2 separate regions of the Homo sapiens genome follow, and region 2 is linked to region 1. Evidence: promoter capture Hi-C in human tissues and cell types (Jung and others, 2019). All regions are on one chromosome and are shown on one strand. Each heading gives the region's core, a stretch centred on a gene start or on the middle of the fragment in contact. The rest is flanking DNA. Distances are from core to core; before and after follow the strand shown. Region 1 holds the start of ATF1 (activating transcription factor 1). Region 2 overlaps BIN2 (bridging integrator 2).

What was found. The method cuts DNA at HindIII sites, captures the fragments that hold promoters and counts their contacts. A contact is called where the count stands out against the background at its distance.
Region 2: a fragment that was not itself captured here is called in contact with the fragment with the promoter of ATF1 in region 1 in 1 of the 25 tissues and cell types used here (aorta).

Annotation. Positions count from the first base shown.
Region 1 is chr12:50,762,743-50,765,442 of GRCh38, forward strand. It overlaps ATF1 (activating transcription factor 1), which reads left to right and starts at 1,359. Exons shown (of 7, transcript NM_005171.5): 1 at 1,359-1,565. RefSeq lists silencers at 1,313-1,392, 1,613-1,702 and an enhancer at 2,123-2,222. The HindIII fragment of the contact is 17,018 bases long and covers 1-2,700 here.
Region 2 is chr12:51,283,805-51,286,504 of GRCh38, forward strand. It overlaps BIN2 (bridging integrator 2), which reads right to left. Exons shown (of 13, transcript NM_016293.4): 12 at 912-983. Among named protein-coding and RNA genes, the nearest start is that of SMAGP, 15 kb to the left of the region's middle. The HindIII fragment of the contact is 4,435 bases long and covers 1-2,700 here.

The DNA of each region.
Region 1 (2,700 bases), core at 109-2,608:
AACTTTTGTCAAGAGCATACTAAAAAAGTTTATCTTTTGTCGTTTACTATCATTAAAGCCATAAAACAGCATTTTACAAGGAAATTTTAAAAATTAAGAATAAGGCATAACTCCCTTCCAGAGAGGTAGACCCAAAAATATTCTGAAGTTTTTGTAATGCATTAAAATGACGGCATAACATTTTATTAACACTCTGTTACGTTTCTTTTTTCTTTTTTTTTGAGACAGTTTTGCTCTTGTTGCCCAGGCTGGAGTGCAACGGTGCGATCTCGGCTCACCGCAACCTCCGCCTCCCGGGTTCAAGCGATTCTCCTGCCTCAGCCTCCCAAGTAGCTTGGATTACAGGCATTCGCCACCACACCCGGCTACTTTTGTATTTTTTAGTAGAGACGGGGTTTCTCCATGTTGGTCAGGCTGGTTTCGAACTCCCGATCTCAGGTGATCCGCCCTCCTGGGCCTCCCAAAGTGCTGGGATTACAGGCATGAGCCACCGCGCCCGGCCACATCGTTATGTCTCATTGTAAATCCGTTTCTGTAGAAAATCCTTCCACATGGGTTAAAGGACACAACTCATTGTTACTTTATGGGATTAAGAAAAATCTGAGTAAGGCCGGGCACGGTGGCTCACGCCTGTAATCCCAGAACTTTGAGAGGCCGAGGCGGAGGATCACTTGAGCCCAGGAGTTCAAGACCAGCCTGAGCAACATAGAGTCCTCATCTCTTCAAGCCGAGCGTGGTAGCGCGCGCCTGTGGTCCCAGCTGCCCCATAGGCTGAGGTTGGAGAATCGCTTGAATCCCGGGGTTGGAGGCTGCAGTGAGTCGAGATCGAACCACTGCACTACAGCCTGGGCCACAGACCCCCGTCTCAATCTCGGAAAAAAAAAAGAGACTCCATCTAAAAAAAAAAAAAAAAAAAAAAAGCTGAGGAAGTCAAAGCCTTCACTCTTCATTTCTCCTTCCAAGAGGACAGGGCCGGCGTCGGTCAAGGTCAATTGGCAGGTGAGTTGACAGCGCCGCCACTAATCGATGAAAACGCCCCCCGCGAGCACCCAGCTGCTCATGGCCTCCGGAAGCGGACGTAGGGCGGGTGGGGTACAGCTCCTAAGGAGAAACGGAACCGCAGGCACCGTCCCTCTCCCGCTGCAGCCTGAGGAACGCGTTCCGAGGAACCCCTAGCCACAAGTCAGGACCGCGTACAAGATGGCGGCGCGTCACGTGGGCAGCGCGGTGACGCAGGACGGCGGCCCGCGCGGAGGCAGCGCCATAGCCTACCCCAAACGCACACTAGTGCTCAGTTTTGCCCCCCTCCCCTCCCCCGCCCCCGCCCCCGCCCCCAGGCTTGTGTAGATCATGCCGCCAGTAGCGGCCCTGACTGCCGAGGAAACGGTAGCTTAGGACAGTTGGCTGTTAAGTGACACTGATTCTCCCCGCCCCGCCTGACCCCCGAGAAGGAGGCTTGTCCCCCGCTGCGTGAGGGGGTGGGGAAGTGGGTAGTGAATTCGGATCTACCTGGGAGGGGGGAGTGGAAGTTCCCGCCCCGGAGAGCGGCGAGGCGGCAGCCACAGGTAAGTGGGGGGCGGGGAGGGACGTGCCCCGTGGCCCGGGCGGGGAAGGACGCGGGAACGTGGCGCCGGCGGGGACGCAGCGCGGGTCGCGCGCCTGGTGGGGGTCGCGCGCGGTGGTGGCGGTGGGGGAGGGGCGCAGCGGCAGGGGGAGGGGCCGCCCGCGCTTCCGGCCTCCGCGCCTCGGTGCAGAGCTGCGCTGCGCCCTTCCAGTCGTGCGTCTCCTCCTTTCCCTCGCCCCCAAATAAAAGTAAAGCCCGAAACCGCCCGCCGCGGGGTGGCTTTCGCCTCAGAAGCCGCCCTTTGCAGTCGCAGGCGCTAGCTCTCCGTGGGAGGTCTCGAGGTTGGGCCCGGAGCCGGGCGGAGGGCGGCGCGGATATGGCCTCGGCGCGGTGTCCGCCGAGCGGAGCCCGGGTCTGGTTAACCCCGCGACAGGGTCCTCGAAGCGCGTCGGCGCTGGCGACCCTGAGGGAAGAGGCGCGCCCCTTACCCTCCTGGAGCTTGCAGTCTAGCGGGCAACCGACGCACGGGCATTGCGCACGCCCCAGACAGTCCTGGAGAGATGCGCCTGGCAGCGGAGACAGAGTGGGGACAGTAGGCGGCTTTACCCCTGGCTAGGAATGACACAAGGGCGTCTGTACCCTTTGGGATGGGCGACCCAGCCGAGGGTGACTTTCTCTTTGATCTTGTATGTCAAAAAACGAAGCCTGGCATTTCTCACTTTGATCGACGCCGTGCAGCTGGCGGCTGAATCGCTTTGAAATGATTGCAATGTGAAATAATGTCTGGTTGTGGCGCTAGTGTTTTGAAGAGATTGGGCAACTGGTAGTCTTTGAGAACCTTTAGGGTTCAGAAGCTCGGCGTGGATCTGGCAGGCATCTTTGTCAAACTGGCCTCACCTGTGATGAGTTCGTAGGCATTTATGTCTCAGAATGCATTTTAACCTGAGGTTTTTGTTAACAGAAATGCGTTCTTCTAAAATGCTCTTTTTTCTTGGAGTTTATCATATGCAGTTATCTCCGTGTCTTAATTAGAATCAATACTGTTGCCCTAAAGTCGAATGTATTAGCTCTTTAATACTTGCCGTTATCTTTTAGGGTTAGGTTTGGTCTGTGAGCTATCTGTCCATTCCTACCCG
Region 2 (2,700 bases), core at 70-2,569, 520 kb after region 1:
ACCAACATGGAGAAACCCCGTCTCTACTAAAAGTACAAAATTAGCTGGGCGTGGTGGCGCATGCCTGTAATCCCAGCTACTCAGGAGGCTGAGGCAGGAGAATTGCTTGAACCCAGAGGCCAAGGCTGCGGTGAGCCGAGATCATGCCATTGCACTCCAACCTGGGCAACAAGAGTGAAACTCCGTCTCAAAAAAAAAAAAAAGAAAAGAAAAATATTTTTTAATGGTGTAGCCTAAGTGTACAGTGTTTATAGTCTATAGGAGTGTAAGTAATGTCCTAGGCCTTCACATTCACTCACCACTCACTCACTGACTCACCCAGAGAAGCTTCCACTCCTGCAAGCTCCACTCATGATAGTGCCCTATACAAGTGTATCACTTTTTATTTTCTATATGCTATTTTTACTGTACTTTTCTATGTTTAGATACACAAATATTAACCACTGTGTCACAGCTGCCTACAGAATTCAGTAAAGTAACATGCTGTATAGGTTTGCAGCCTAGAAGCAATAGGCTATACCATACAGCCACACATAATGACAAAATCGTCTAATAATGCATTTCTCAGAGCATATCCTTGTTGTTGAGCAACACATTACTGTATAATATGACCTTTTTGCATTTAAAAAAAATATCTTAACCTCTTTAACTCCTTTTTGAAATAATTTGAGATTTAATTAAATAAATACCTAGAAGATAGGGCCAGTTTAAGGTCAAGTATAGGAAAATGGGCACGGAGATACCACGAAGTCCCAGTTCATTCTTGTTTCCTCTGATTCCCACCTGCTTGACTGCCCTAAGGGTATGGTTCACTGCCGGATTCCCCTTGTAGCCTGTGGTGAAGATTCCAGCCTTTTCCCAAACCCCTGTCAATCTAATGCCCAATCTATTCTCTGTATATCTGGTCTTACCTCTTCTTGAGGTTCAGGTGCTGTGAGGTTGTTGTTTTCTGGTACCATGGAGACTTGAAGCTGGTCTTGGCCCTACAAAGAGAAGAGTTCTGCCAGTAAGAGGTGGCTCAACCTTTCCAGCCTCTCAGCATAGAAGTGTCTTCTGTGCCTTATACTTTACAAGGGTCTCAGTATTTGTACTATTACAAAGGGCAAAATACAGTGTTGTTTCACCAGAGCCTGAAGGCATCGGGAAAGGCTTTCATCCATCCTCTTTTACAGATGAATAAACTAAGATTCAAAGGGTAAAAAGACTTGCTGGGACAGGAAACCAGGTCTTTGAATTCCTGAGTTGTTTCCATGATCAAACACCATGTAATCTGTGTGACATGGTGTGGATGTGTATCTATAAGGGAGTGCGAGGTCTTAAAATTACTACCTGCCACTTTTAGATGAACCGTCCTCAAGAATGTACTGCAACTCTCACACTTAAGTGATCCTAATTCATGACACGCAGTTAGGAGAAGCAAGTGGTAAAATAATTTCTTTGGGAAAAATTTTAGGTTCTGAGATGGGAACCCAAGGTGTAGGAAGCCCAGTCTAGACCACGTGCAGGGGTGCACACCTGTAGTCCCAGCTCCTTGAGAGGCTGAGGCAGGAGGATCACTTGAGGCCAGGAGTATCAAGGTTGCAGTGCACTATGATTGCACCTGTGAATACCCACTGCACTCCAGCCTGGGCAACATAGTGAGATCATCTCTAAAAATATAAATTTTAAAAAAAAGAAAGAAAGCCCTGCCTAGAAACTGCTATGCTAGGGGAAGACCCTGTGAGGTTTAAAATAAGTTTTTAAAACATGAAATTTAATTTACAAACTATAAATTCATATTTTAAAAACAGAACCAATTTCTTTTTAATTTTTTCTTTCTTTCTTTTTTTTTTTTTTTGAGAAGGAATCTGGCTCTGTCACCCAGGCTGGAGTGCAGTGGCGTGATCTTGGTTCACTGCAACCTCCACCTCCCAGGTTCAAGCGATTCTCCTGCCTCAGTCTCCCAAGTAGCTGGGATTACAGGCGCCCACCACCATGCCTGACTTTTAGTAGAGATGAGGCTTCACTATGTTAGCAAGGCTGGTCTCAACCTCCCAACCTCAAGTGATCCACTCCCCTCAGCCTCCCAAAGTGTTGGGATTACAGGTGTGAGCCATGGCACCTGGCCAACAGAACCAATTTCTAACAGTGTGATAGCCACTTGAAATTCCAAGATTTCTCCTTCAAGGACATTTTCTTTCTTTTTACTCCCTCCTCCCTTTCCAGGTCATGAATTAGCTCAGAGGTGATGTTACATCACCTCCCGGAAAGTTATCAAAACCTTCCATCTCTCTGAGATGATTCAAATGGTAAGCAAGAACAGATTTTTTCCCAGTAATTTTTTTTCAAAAATGGCTATGTTTTTTCCCAGTTATATTTATATTTACCCATTTTTACATGTGACATGTCCATAATTCTGCCTGAGAGAAAATATGATTTATAATGCATCTGCAAGGGAAGTGAGCATACACAGGCTTCAGAGGATTGATGACACGAATAGGCTAGGATCTAAGATGCTCTAGTTGCTTAATTCTACAGGAAAAATATTTCTCCTTAGCTGATGACCAAAGCAATCCCACCAGAGAGGCTAAGAGTAAGGAAATATTATAAATCTAAAATATAAGGAGACAGACTCAGGCGGAAGGAGAGTGTATCCTGTACCTCTTTTCCAGGGAGGACAGTGTTACTAGCCTGTTTCTTAAAATGGTCAGAAAGAGTCTT